Regions from separate parts of the Homo sapiens genome. Here all the other regions are linked to region 1. Evidence: promoter capture Hi-C in human tissues and cell types (Jung and others, 2019). All regions are on one chromosome and are shown on one strand. Each heading gives the region's core, a stretch centred on a gene start or on the middle of the fragment in contact. The rest is flanking DNA. Distances are from core to core; before and after follow the strand shown. Region 1 holds the start of CNTN1 (contactin 1). Region 2 overlaps MUC19 (mucin 19, oligomeric (gene/pseudogene)). Region 3 overlaps CNTN1 (contactin 1). Region 4 overlaps CNTN1 (contactin 1). Region 5 overlaps CNTN1 (contactin 1).

Region 1 (2,700 bases), core at 136-2,635:
CGTGTTAGCCAGGATGGTCTCGATCTCCTGACCTTGTGATCCGCCTGCCTCGCCTGCCAAAGTGCTGGGATTACAGGCATGAGCCACCTCGCCCGGCCCCCACCTTCAAATGCATTAATCGGATTCCTTCAGTATTATGAAGAAAACATTATGAAGAGCCTTACCTGATGATAGTAATAACAACCGTAACCACTAAGTAGAGTCTATATTTATTAATAGCAATGTCATCTTCTCTAACAGTTGTCCAGTGTCCCAAGCCTGTCATAAGCTCTTTGAAGCTCTGTGAGAATGAGAGTTGTGTCTTATGCTCAGCACTTAAGATGGCTACTTAATTCAGATAGAAGAAGAATGTGGCTATTTGCAGGCAGAAGGCAACTTGATTCCTCACATGGTACTATATACTAAGACACCCTACACTCCCAGTTTTACACGTGGTAGTTCTAGCACGTTCCTTCATTTAAGGAGTCTCTTGAATTCCAAAATTTCCAGATTCCACCTGAATAAATGGCAGAGATGGCAACTGGACACAAAGTTATTTTACCCTGTTCCCTTCACATAAAAGGCAGGCTTGGGATCACTTAGGTTTGGGGGCATAAACATCCTCTCAGTGTCTGAGTACTAAAGAAATGATAAACTACTATCAATAGAAAAGTAACAGATCACTTAATTATCAATCAGTCTAATGGTGATTATTTTAAGACTTTTGCCACAAACTGAACTGCCCCAAAGCAAATCTCTCATGCAGTTTGGCCTTAATTTCTTTTACCCTTTTTTTTTTTTTGAGAGGTTATTATGCAGTGCTTTCCCGTTTAAAACACTGTTTCTACCAGGGAATATTAGGGGGTCTTCTGCATTACAGACTAAGCAATTCCGTCTTTTCTCAAGAAAAACTGCCATGTTACATCTGGACAAAAATGGAAACTTTAAAAAAAAACCTCACATCGTTTTATTTTCCTTTCTGTGTGTGTATTTTTTCCCACATAAGTATCTTATTATTTCCTAATCGAAGCTCATTCTTCTCTATGAGGCGCTGGCTTGGTATTTTCGCCTGACAAATCTCCCGGAGCAGATGGTCCCTTCAGGGAAGCTTCAGGAAAGTGCTGGGTGTCTAGTTATGCCTGGACCCTCCCTCCCTCTTGGGGCCCCAAATGACAAGTCATCAAACCAGTTTCTCTCCAGCAAGGGTCCTTGATCCGGTAGCAGCAGGTTTGGGTTTCAGGCACTGCAGAGACCCTTTGCAGTTGGGTTTAGCAGCTACCCAAGTCTGCAGCCTGCGCTGGTCCTGGGGGTGAGAGTGATATCCCTGTTGTCCAATCAGAGAAGCGGGTTTCCCTGTGGTCCCCGCCCCACTTTCCCTGCTGCCCCAATAACCGCCCTAAAAGGCCGGGCTTCTGCTGTCAAGTAGCCAGGGTGGGCTCCGCCGAGGCGAGGAGGGGCGCCGGTGGGGAGATGCGCTCCCAGGTGTTTGCAGCGGAAGTGGGAAACCTGTAGGGTATGGTCCAGCTGTGCCGCACCGAGGCGAGCAGGAGCAGGGAACAGGTAGGAAGCTGGACTTTTCCTTCTTTGCAGATAAAATAAAGAATGCGCATTTCCATGCTGTTGCTTCCCTTCCCCCAGCCCCGCCCAGCCCTCGTCACCCCCAAATCTCCTGTGGTCCCTGCAGCTCTCGCCGTGCGGCGCGGGAAGGACTGGGGCGGAGGTGGCTGGGGTGCGGGGAAGCAGGGGTGCGGGATGCCGGAGCCCTGGGGTGCCGGGCAAGGCAGGACGGCAGTGCCCTAGAAGAGGGCTCCGAGCTCGGGGTCTGTGTCTCGTCAACTTTCCTTTCGGAGGCTGCCGCCGCCAGCGCCGGGAACTCGCCCCAGGGATGCCATATCGCCTCGGCAGGGGAGGGGTGGGGAAGCAGAGAGGTCGGCAGCCCGGGGCCTGCAGGTCTTTTTCTCCCGACGCCGGCCCGCACCTGCTCATCTTTCCCATCCCACCTGGGCGCCTGGCTAGCGCATCCCGGAAAACCTGGGAGCGGTTGCGGAGAGGGGAGGAAGCGACTTGTTTGTCCCCTGACCCCTCTGTTAAGATCTAGCTCCCTTCAGGAGATGGGGGTGGGGAAGAATCCCTGCAACTCGAAGGGCACGTTCCGATTAATTACGTCTCCGTTGAGAAGGCACCGGCCCTTCTCCACGATCTGCGGCAGGTGGGAGGGAGAGACCGCGGAGCCACGGCCCCTTCCCTCCTAGCCTGGCGCTGTCTACGGGAACCACCTTCACACCTAGTTTCTGAAAGGTGGATTTGGCTTCAGGGATTTCCAGGGAGTCAAGTGATTGTGCCCGGATGGGCTCCGAGCGGCTGCGAGGCTGCCTCCCTAGGTGACCGCATCTGGGTAGTAGGTGTTGGCCCAGTGCCGGTTCCTGCAGGAGTCAGATTGCTGGGAGCAGTAGGCAGAAGAATTGCAGAGAGATCCGACGCTGCATCACCCTCTGGGACTGATGACACCCTGCTTTGAAAATTCCTGAAAAATTGGGATGATGGGAAAGAGGGAAAGCGGATAGCTGCGACCTTTCCTTATTTATTTATTTATTTTCATGCCAAACCGGGCATGGGTATTCGTACGTGTGCTTGTGTGTGCACATCTCCAAGGTGGAGCTATATATAGCTCCTGCATACCCAGCCCGGCTTCCCTGCTGCTGAGCCGGCTGCCTTGGCCTT
Region 2 (2,700 bases), core at 89-2,588, 140 kb before region 1:
TGTATGGTTTTTCACATCTTAATTTTTTTTTCAGTTCAGCTGTGATTTTTGTTATTTCCTGTCTTCTGCTAGTTTTGAGGTTGGTTTGCTTTTGTTTCTCTAGTACCTGTAGGTGTGATGTTAGGTTGTTACTTTAAGAGCTTTCTAACATTTTGATGTGGGCATTTGGCACTATAAACTTCCCTCTTAACACTGCTTTAGCTGTGACCCAGAGATTCTGGTATGCTGTATGTTTAAAAAATATGGAATGCCTCACGAATTTTTGTGTCATCCTTATACTAGGGCCATGCTAATATTCTCTGTATCACCCCAATTTTAGTATATGTGCTGCTGAAGTGAGCACAATAATTTCTTTGTTAGTTTTCTGCCCTGATGATCAATCTAATGCTGTCAGTAGGGTGTTGGAGTCCCCACGATTACTGTGCAGCTGTCTTTTTGTGGGTCTAGAAGTACTTGCATTATGAATCTGGATATTCCAATGCTGGGTGCATATATGTCTAGAATAGTTAATTCTTCTTCTTGAATCAAACACTTTATCACTATGTAATGCTCTTCTTTGTCCTTTTTTGCTGTTGTTGGTTTAAAGTCCTTTATGTAAGAATAGCAACTTCTGATCTTTTTTGCTTTCCTTTTGCATTGTAGATCCTTCTTTCTTTATTTTGACTCTGTGGGTATAATTACATGTGAGATGGAGCTCTTGAAGACAGCAGATGGATGGCTCTTGTTTTTGTTTGTTTGTTTTTGTTTATTTCCAACTTGCCACTCCACACCAGCTTTTTAGATGTGATTTTTATGAAACTAAGAATGATATGTTATTCTGAATCCTTTATCCATCTTGCCTTCATATGGTCAGCTGGAGTTTTCAAGAGCCTAGAAAATGCCAGTCTTGGTTAGTAAAAGTGTTTAATTTGCCCATCTTGGACTTCTATTGCATATTAAACCTATTCTCATGGGTTTATCCTCATGACTAAGGTTCCAAGAAATTTAATTAAAAAAAATTCACCCCCACACTTCCAAGAAGTCCCTATGAAACGTGAGGGAGCAACACCACAGGAATTAAAACTGAGGAGCAAAGGAAAAGCACTTCTTTCCAAAGTATTTAACCACAGCAAAAGGGCTCCAGAATAGAGTTTTGCCACAGTTGAGGAAGCCTAGGAGAAAGTACGGTTTTTGTTTCTCTTTGCATAGAGAAGCCCTTGGATGGCTTATAAGAAATGTGAATTTTTCCAAGTCTATGCTGTTCTCTGGGTTAAAAAAAAAGTCATTACTATGATCTCTGTCTCTCTTGATCTCTCTCTCTCTGTTTTACTATCTTTCCCTCAATTTCATTTTCATTTCAAATCCCCTGGAATATCTTCTTTCATCACACTTGCTGGAAGTTTCGACAGGGATTAGTCAAAGTTACAAAAGAAAGCTGTCTCTGAGTACCTCAGGCAAAAGGCCATCTTCTTTGAGAATATTTCTTCTACTATAACATGAAATATTTTCCAGATTTCAAAATTAAGTCATCTCAACTTCTTCCTCTACTACCAGGAACTACAACTTCATTACTGAACAATACCACTATTAGAAATTAATTACAAACAGGGGATTTCATTAATTACTAGTGAAATTTAGGCCCTGATAGGAGATGATAAAACTTTTCATTTGAAGACTTATTGAAGTCCGTTGAAGGTAGTCATATTAATGCTGTGGAATACCCTGAACTAAAGATTTAATTTGAAACATCATTGTTAGGACATAGCTTCCCAGAAGTAGATACCTAAATGGGGACAGGAATTTTTTTAAGTAAAGTATTTCCACACTTGTCTTTGCTAATACTACTGTCATATCAAATAAAGTCACCACTAACCAAGAATTCCAGGCTGGATAAATAAAAGATGACTGAAATAAGCTTAAGACATCTTGGGGGTCTTTTGTTTACTTGAAAGAATTAGGACAGAAAAGAATATTTTCTCTTTTCTATTAAAATGTCTGGGGGATGTAAAACAATATGGAATTTTCAGGGAAGTATATAATACAATAATACAATATACTTGTGGAAAACAACCCAGATGTTGAGAGAACATTGAAAGAGGGAATGTTGGGAAGATTTTAGAGCTTCTAGATTGCAAAGTTGGGACAGAAATATCATGAAATGAAGAAAAAAAGATCACTCATCAATTCTATATTCTATAAGAATATTATAATATTGGCCTCAATTATAACACAAAAAATTAAAAAGTTGATTCCATGGGCAATGAGAAGGGATTTTTAAAGAGGTTAATTATCATGCCCAGGTTGGATTCTTTGGGAAGATTAATTTGTCACAGGTAGCAGATTGATATGAAAGGAGAGTAAGAATAAGGGTGGAGGTATGTTGTATAGTTTGAAGTCTCTTGGAAGTGACAGATGATTAGGGACTGAAATAAGCTAGTCGTAAGGGGATGCAGAGGCGGAAAGAGTGTGCAAGATGTTGGCCAGTTAGAATCAACAAGTGTGGCTGAGGAGATAAAGGAGAGGAATAAATTTAGATGACTCCTAGTTCATGATTTGAGTGCTTGGGTGGATAGATGATGGTGCCATCTACCAAGTTTGGGAATATACTAGAGGAATTAAAAATAATATTTGATAGATGATACAGTATGGTCTGATTTTTATCGTTTGAGTTCAAATTACTCTGAGGTTTCCAGGTAGTGATGTCCAGAAGAGTTGATGAAG
Region 3 (2,700 bases), core at 103-2,602, 190 kb after region 1:
ATATGTAAACACATCAAATTATTTAATCAGAATAGATTTCTCTATGAGGAATCACTGTATCAAAGTATCTGAATACTTTTAAGATACTTGATGCATATTACTAAATTATTTCCTGAAAATGTTGTCTTAGTTACTACTTCTTGTAGCAGTATAGGAAAATATTAATCATTGCATCCACATAAACATCGAGTATTGTTAATTTTAATGCTGTGCAAATTTTATCAAATAAAATATATATACAGCATTAAGTTGCATTTTTTATTCATATGTCATACATGTATGTTCATTCATGTAAGTTTAGCATGTTCTTTATTCATTAGTCTATTAGTATTATAATAGTCTTTCATATATTAACTGCTGTGAGTTCCTTATAGCTATGTCTGTAATCTTTTTGAAGTTTTTTCCCAATTTACATTTTGCCCTTAAAATTCATTCATAACTTTTATATATACAACTTAAATTTTTTCCTTTGTATTTTCTTATATTCAGGGAGTTGGTGTATTTATTTCCTTTTTAAGTTTCTGTAAGTTAATTTGATTTTTATATTTTGACTTTTAATTCATCTGAGTTTTTGTTGATATATGAAGTGAGATTAGAATGCTTATTGATTTTTTTCTAGCTATTTAGTTGCCTCAGTGCCCTTTATTGAGTCGTATTTCATATCTTTACCTGTTAGCACTTTCACAAATAGAGGATGCAAGCAATATAAATGTAAGCCTGGTTTAAATCTTAATTCCACCACTTACTAGTACCAGAAACACCACAATCCTGGGCAAATTGCTTAACCTACATGACTCAGGTGTTTCATCCCTAAAATGGACACAAAGAAGAACCTATATGAAGGTTTTTGTGAGGGGTGAGATAATACATGTAAGGTGTCTGGCACACAATAAATGCTCAGAAAATGTTAGTTCTTATAGAATCTGTTTGTTCTGTAAAGAACACCATTTTTTATGAAGTTTTTATTATGATTTTCAATTGGTGGGATTATAGTTATTTTATTAGCCTTGAGAAACAATTTGGTAGAGTACTTAAGCACATGGACTCTAGAGCTAAACTGCTTGGTTGTGAATCCCAACATGCCTACTAGTTAACTGTGTGACCTTAGCTACTTCACATCTTTGTGTCTCAATTTCTCTATCTGTAAAATTGAGATATTCATAGCATTTACCATAGAGATTTTCTGTGAGAACTCCAATGAGAATTAAATGTATTTACAGTGGTTAGTAGTAAGTGCTATGTATGCATTAGCTATAATTTGTTCCAAAATAGTCTTAATGTCCTTTTCAAACATTTTTCTTCTCTAATAAATTTGAGACTTATTCTTTCAAGTGTAGAGAAATCCCATTTGTGCTTTGATTGAAAGTATGTCATTTTGGAAAACTTTAAGAATATTGAGTCTTGTTATCAGGAGCTGGTATAGTTTTCCAATTTGTCAATGCTTCTTTTAAGTCTATCAATAAATATTTATAGCTTTTCATTTCTTGTACTGATTATTAAAAGTATTTCTAGGTCATCAATCGTGTGTTTGTTAATACTGCAGGCTGAGGCTTCACCTTTCTTATTTCTAAGTAGACATTGTTAGTACAAAAGAAAACTATAGTTTAGTTTATATTTATCTTCTGCTTAGTCACTTTGCTGAACTCTTAATGTTCATATTTTATTTAAATCCATTTTCTTTGATATCCTGGTCTATAATCATACCGTATGCAAAATAATAGTTCTGCATCCTCTTTTTTGATTGTTGTAAATACAATTTTTGCTTCATTTTGAACTATATTTGCCTAAGCTCCAAAACAGTGCTAAATTCTGTGTTTCCAGTATGGTAGAAGACACTGGGATAAAAAACAGACCAGACAGCGATGGGCCCTGTCTTCACAGTGTTTTAAATCTATTCCCATGGACTTAACATAATATTGATCTATCAAATCCTGTGTGTTGGTTTGCATTATTTAGGGGAGATGTTATATAACCTTCATTAGATTATTAAAAGGGCTTATGGCTGTAAAAGTTAAGAGTCTTTTATCGTAGATTCTGGATATTAGCCCTTTGTCAGAGGAGTAGGTTGCAAAAATTTTCTCCCATCTTGTAGGTTGCCTGTTCACTCTGATGGTAGTTTCTTTTGCTGTGCAGAAGCTCTTTAGTTTAATTAGATCCCATTTGTCAATTTTGGCTTCTGTTGCCATTGCTTTTGGTGTTTTAGACATGAAGTCATTGCCCATGCCTATGTCCTGAATGGTATTGCCTAGGTTTTCTTCTAGGGTTTCTATGGCTTTAGGTCTAACATGTAAGTCTTTAATCCATCTTGAATTAATTTTTGTATAAGGTGTAAGGAAGGGATCCAGTTTCAGCTTTCTACATATGGCTAGCCAGTTTTCCCAGCACCATTTATTAAATAGGGAATCCTTTCCCCATTGCTTGTTTTTCTCAGGCTTGCCAAAGATCAGATAGTTGTAGATATGTGGCATTAATTCTGAGGGCTCTGTTCTGTTCCATTGATCTATATCTCTGTTTTGGTACCAGTACCATGCTGTTTTGGTTACTGTAGCCTTGTAGTGTAGTTTGAAGTCAGGTAGCGTGATGCCTCTGGCTTTGTTCTTTTGGCTTAGGATTGACTTGGCAATGCAGGCTCTTTTTTGGTTCCATATGAACTTTAAAGTAGTTTTTTCCAATTCTGTGAAGAAAGTCATTGGTAGCTTG
Region 4 (2,700 bases), core at 177-2,676, 160 kb after region 1:
GATCTGTGACATCAAAACTGTTTCCAACATGTGATGGTCATGTTTACATTGTCTTAGTCTGGCTTCATTAACTCATTCACCATTTATTTATTCAACACCCACTATCTGTAAGACACTGTGATAAACAAGTGATATACAAGATAAACAAGAGATATACAAGATAAACAAGAGATATACAATCCTTTTTTTTCCCCCTATAGACTGTAGTCTATTGGGAAACTTGGGCAATAAAATAGGTAATTACAATGAAGGCTATAGCTTTGATATCAGGAGTTAGTCTAGCTCCCTCTCTAGCTCTATCCGTCTCCTTTCCCAAGCCCCTCTGCCCTTACTTTTTGTTTAAACAGCTCTGATCATATCAAGTTATTTTGAATAACTTTAAAAAATGCAGGAAGATATACAGTCCACTGACCATATGCCTCAGTAGTGAAAAAATGTGTTTATGTATACCTGCCTCGGAATGAAGCTTCCTGTACCTCCAAATTTATAATAATTTTCCAAATATTTTCTCAGCTTTTTTCAACACTTCTTTTACAGCATCCTAGATCAAAATGATTGATTTTAGAGATTTTTATTAAATATTCTTTAACTCATTCCTACTGTATGCTAGGTACTATGCTATCTCTCAAGGATATAATGATAAGTAAATAGACAGGCTGACATGCTATCTATACTTAGGAAGTTTACAGTCTAGTGGTAAATACACATATTAAATTAAAAATATGCAAATGACAAGTCAGCTTGTCATACATGTTAACAGGGAAATTGCAAGAGCATAGAATTTCCTCATGGGATAAAAGTGAGTGGGAGAGAATTTAGATGAATGTGAAAAGACTGACTCTTGGTGAAAGTTTGATTTATTTTGAATCCTGAAGAATAAAGATTTATTCAAGACACAACATGGGGGAATAATTAGTTATTCCCACATTCTCATATTTAGTTTCATCTCATCTCATATTTCTAGATTTAAAAGTTTGGTCATGGTTTTTTAAAGATGTGAATTACCTTAAGTCTCTAAGTCAAGACTCTGTGTCTCTAAACTTGGATCAGAAACTAGCTGGAGAAATAAGAAAAGAAAAAAAAGACTGTCATGCAAATGTCTAACCATTTAAAATATGAGGATTTAAGGAGCCAAAGGCAGATCAGCAAGTGAAAGCTTTTCACTTCCGTTAACATTTCTCATTCTAAATTGGAAGTTATGTGCTATGACAACATAAGAAGAGGATTTCTAACTCAGAGTAGGAGAGCCAAGGAACATATTCTAAAGCAACTGATTTCAGAATTGAGACCTAAGTGATAATTAGGAGCTAATCAGAAGAGCAGATGGCGGAAGGAGAAAAAGTGGAGGAAGATAGCCCAGAGGAGTCAGGGAGTCAAGAAAGAAGAGGAATTTGAGAACGAGCCCAGAGGCAAGAGGGCTGAAAAGTCCTGTAGTTCAGTACTCGGAGGGTGCTGGTATAGGGGAACAGTGGCAATGTGTCACTGGGGAGGTGATAGGGAAGGCAATGAGAGACCCTTAGATTGTATTAAGAAGACAAGTGACTTGATTGAATTTTTGTCTGCAAGAAAGCTCTGGCTACTGTTGTGAAAACATTTTTGAGTGAGGCATGACTGTGAAGCAGAAAGAATACTAGAGGGTAGTGCAGTAACCTTGGATAGAAATACTAATGACCTAGTCTAGTGGTTACCAAACTTTGTTCCTCAAACACTCCCAAAATAATTTTGTAAAATTGTATATCATCTCATATACTTGTGAATTGACATAAACATTCATCATAAGTTTAAACCGTTGCAAAATGTAATTTTCAGCATATTGTAAATTTTGCCATTTTAAATTGTCTGTTGTATTACTCTTAATAGTATCCATTAGAGTCTGAATAATACCGAGATTCAATGCTCGTCATTATCTATTTAAAAATATTTGATATATCTCTTGCACAACTCTAAAAATTTTGTGCCATTTTTTTCTTTTTAATTTCTATTTTCATTCTCATGGATTTCACTCTTTTATTATATATCATATGCTCAAAAGTATTTAATTATCTAATAATGCATTTTAGTTATAAAATGGTTATAATTTAATTTTAAACATTTCCTATAAGGTTTTAAGTGTTAATTATTTTTCTAGAATGAGTTGTCAATAAAATTTTTATTATTGAACACTTGAATAAATCTATATAACTACATTTCAAATTCTGAAAAAATTGTTACTGACAAAAGAAGTACAACTTTATTGGCAATGTATAGCTTAATGTAACAGACGGGCTTTTAAAATTTTAATCCCTCTACCTTTGGGAGAATGTTACTTATTGCCAAAATTAGACAGAGTTTAATATTAATTCTGTTTTGAATTTGATCTATTGTCAAAAATTATCTTTAATAAACTTAATTTTGTTGAATGCAAAGAAATGGAAATTGCTTGACTTACGAAATAATTTAGTTGCTAGCCATTCACTTTCTCAATAGCCATACCAGTATTTCTCAACATTTATATCAGTTATCTTTTTGTTTGGTGCTCCCAAAGAGTTTACATGCTCAATCAATGCACATTAAATTTTGGGTGGGTGAGAAGTATGTCTTTCTTCTGTAAAATAAGAGGAAGGTAACTAGGAAAGAGGGAGCTGGAAAGTAGAGCCTGCACTTGTGTCTGAAGATAGAGCTGAAGATAAATGTATCTTAAGTTAATTATCTAAAATCTTT
Region 5 (2,700 bases), core at 131-2,630, 240 kb after region 1:
ATCATTTGAGTTCCTAGACCTTTTAAAATTCCTTGCACACTCCTGGAGCTTTGTCGTAATATGGTGTTTGCTCAAGCTAAACTGGTCCAATTTAAATGCCATATTTGCCTCAGAGTGCTATAGCCCTTACCTACTTCTAACTACCGTCCTCATCAGTCACTCTTTCAAAGTACCCATTTTGATTTGGCTTATATATCATTATTTATTTATTTGTCTCTTTAGCATTTTACAGTGTGTGGTACACACTCAATTTGTGATCCTAAACAATGCCTTTCACCTTTCTAAGCCTGATTTTTTCTGTAAGCCTGAAGGATTAATACATCTTTCAGGACTGATGTGCTAAATAAATGAAATAAAGTGTCTAGTTTGAAGAGTGCTGTGTTGTCTGAGTAAATGTTTTCCTTCTTTCCCTCTCTCCTTCTCTCTTTTCAATTTGTTTCCCTTTGCCTTTATCTCTGTGGGCATTTCTTCTTTTCTCCTTAGTTTCTTGCCTTGCGTCTTTCTTTTCTACTCTCTTCTCCTTCTTCTCTTTCCTTCTCCCTCATTTTCTTTCTCCACCTTCCTGAGTTCCATGCAGCACTGATCACAATGTTTGACACATATCTGTTGCTCACTAAAGACAGGATTTTTTTTAGTAAATTGAGTCACAATGGTTATGCAGCTGTCAGAACGAGCCAATATTATTGAAAATACTGAGAAGTTATACTATATTCATACTGTGCATAAACAAACAAGTCTATCCATTATGATATGACCTGTACCTGTACAGAGAAAAGCTTCCATGTTGGAGCAGCTCTAATCCTGTAGAATTACCATGTTTAAGAATAACTAATATTGTGCCTAATAATTAGTGGATATTTGTGTTTCTCTTAATATTAGGAACAACAAAACCATATCCTGCTGATATTGTAGTTCAGTTCAAGGATGTATATGCATTGATGGGCCAAAATGTGACCTTAGAATGTTTTGCACTTGGAAAGTAAGTATACTGACACTTTTATTAATATATATAGAAATAGTACCATTTTAGGAAATAAATAATTGTTTAGCTATAAACATAAAGTAATTGTCTTTTAAGTGTGTGAAACTTTAACCCTTGTATCTTCTATTTAAAGTCCTGTTCCGGATATCCGATGGCGGAAGGTTCTAGAACCAATGCCAAGCACTGCTGAGATTAGCACCTCTGGGGCTGTTCTTAAGATCTTCAATATTCAGCTAGAAGATGAAGGCATCTATGAATGTGAGGCTGAGAACATTAGAGGAAAGGATAAACATCAAGCAAGAATTTATGTTCAAGGTAGATACATTATTTTAATTTTGTATAAATTTCATCAGTATCTTATTTAGAGCCATTTCCATACATGAAAAACTACTATATAATGATTAATGGTTTTAAAAACAGTGATGCATGTTACATCATGGAGAAAGATAAAATATTTCTCATATGTCTAATGAAGTCACAACTATGAGTTATAGAAGTTACGAACTTATTACCAGTTGAACCATAGGTAATAGCAATAGATTGATAGAAGTGTTATTGGTAATTTTCAGAATATACACTTAATGTAGTTTGTTTACTCATTTTATCACTGTCTTTTTTCAGTATCTTTTTATTTATAGAAGAAGCTATGTGTTATGACTTAGTTTAAGTCAGTGGTTTGCAAACTTAAGCATGCATCAAAATCACATGGAGGGCTTGTTAAAACAGATTGCTGGGCCAAACTCTCAGAATTTTTCATTCAGAGGTCTGTTAGGGGCTCATGAATTTGTATTTTTAACAAATTCCCAAAGGATGCTGATAATATTGGTCCTGGAGTCACACTTTGAGAACCACTGGTTTAAGAAATCTTTTTTTTTTTTTTTGACAAAATTATCATGGCACAAACCTTTGATTTTCACACATTAAAATAAACTTACATTTGGGAAGACAGATTTTTTTTCAGGCCACACTGGAAACTTTCCAGACTGAAATAATTTCTATAATGTTCCACAACATGAACTTTGCAGGTCACAAGTGAATAAACATCGAGGGCTTCCACAATATTATTCGTTTTTAACTCTGGCTACTGTCCCATTTCACTTTCTCCCGTCTCTCCCAAAAAGGAATAAAAAATTTGACAGATTCACGCATTCTCTCTAAAAGTGTTGTCTCCATCTCCAGTTTTTCTTCTCTCTTAATTGCACTCCAACATGATTTGCATCTCTGCCTCTCCACAGAAACCTTTCTTTTCATGACCACAGACTTCCATATTGCTAAAGCTAATGATCAATTCTCAGTTGTACTTTTTTTTGATCTAACAGCAGTGGTTGCCACAGTTGGTCCCTCCCTTCTTCATGATTCACTTTCTGCACTTCATGTCTGCAACCTACTTTGTTATTAATTTCCTTGTATAATCTTTCATTCTCCATTGCCTTTCAACTCCATACTTTTCTAACATTGGTGTGATCAGGGTTCCATCTGTGAACCCCATCTCCATTTCAGTCACTCCATTTATGATCCCACTCGTGATCATGGCTTTAGACACACTCTGTACCCTGAATGCTCTAACCCAAACATTTACTCTGAACTTCAGACTCGTATGTCCAATGCCACAGTAACATTAATGCAATACATATCAAGTCTGCATGAAATGGCCTCCTAAAAGGAAGAAAATACTAGGTAAGGTCCTTTAAACTTTTGAAATAAATCCACCACTTTCT

The links. Contacts are between HindIII fragments. The study calls those that stand out against the background at their distance.
Region 2: a contact is called between a fragment that was not itself captured here and the fragment with the promoter of CNTN1 in region 1, in 2 of the 25 tissues and cell types used here (bladder and thymus).
Region 3: a contact is called between a fragment that was not itself captured here and the fragment with the promoter of CNTN1 in region 1, in 7 of the 25 tissues and cell types used here (H1 embryonic stem cells, adrenal gland, dorsolateral prefrontal cortex and 4 more).
Region 4: a fragment that was not itself captured here is called in contact with the fragment with the promoter of CNTN1 in region 1 in 5 of the 25 tissues and cell types used here (dorsolateral prefrontal cortex, heart right ventricle, hippocampus and 2 more).
Region 5: a contact is called between a fragment that was not itself captured here and the fragment with the promoter of CNTN1 in region 1, in 3 of the 25 tissues and cell types used here (H1 embryonic stem cells, hippocampus and spleen).

Annotation. Positions count from the first base shown.
Region 1 is chr12:40,691,054-40,693,753 of GRCh38, forward strand. CNTN1 (contactin 1) reads left to right here and starts at 1,386. Exons shown (of 24, transcript NM_001843.4): 1 at 1,386-1,539. The HindIII fragment of the contact is 18,580 bases long and covers 1-2,700 here.
Region 2 is chr12:40,553,925-40,556,624 of GRCh38, forward strand. The region is part of intron 156 of MUC19 (mucin 19, oligomeric (gene/pseudogene)); the gene reads left to right. It also overlaps the pseudogene RNU6-713P. Among named protein-coding and RNA genes, the nearest start is that of CNTN1, 140 kb to the right of the region's middle. The HindIII fragment of the contact is 5,397 bases long and covers 1-2,700 here.
Region 3 is chr12:40,884,423-40,887,122 of GRCh38, forward strand. All of the region lies in intron 1 of CNTN1 (contactin 1), which reads left to right. Among named protein-coding and RNA genes, the nearest start is that of CNTN1, 190 kb to the left of the region's middle. The HindIII fragment of the contact is 7,874 bases long and covers 1-2,700 here.
Region 4 is chr12:40,853,483-40,856,182 of GRCh38, forward strand. All of the region lies in intron 1 of CNTN1 (contactin 1), which reads left to right. Among named protein-coding and RNA genes, the nearest start is that of CNTN1, 160 kb to the left of the region's middle. The HindIII fragment of the contact is 5,315 bases long and covers 1-2,700 here.
Region 5 is chr12:40,932,582-40,935,281 of GRCh38, forward strand. CNTN1 (contactin 1) reads left to right here. Exons shown (of 24, transcript NM_001843.4): 8 at 880-979; 9 at 1,116-1,297. Among named protein-coding and RNA genes, the nearest start is that of CNTN1, 240 kb to the left of the region's middle. The HindIII fragment of the contact is 4,404 bases long and covers 1-2,700 here.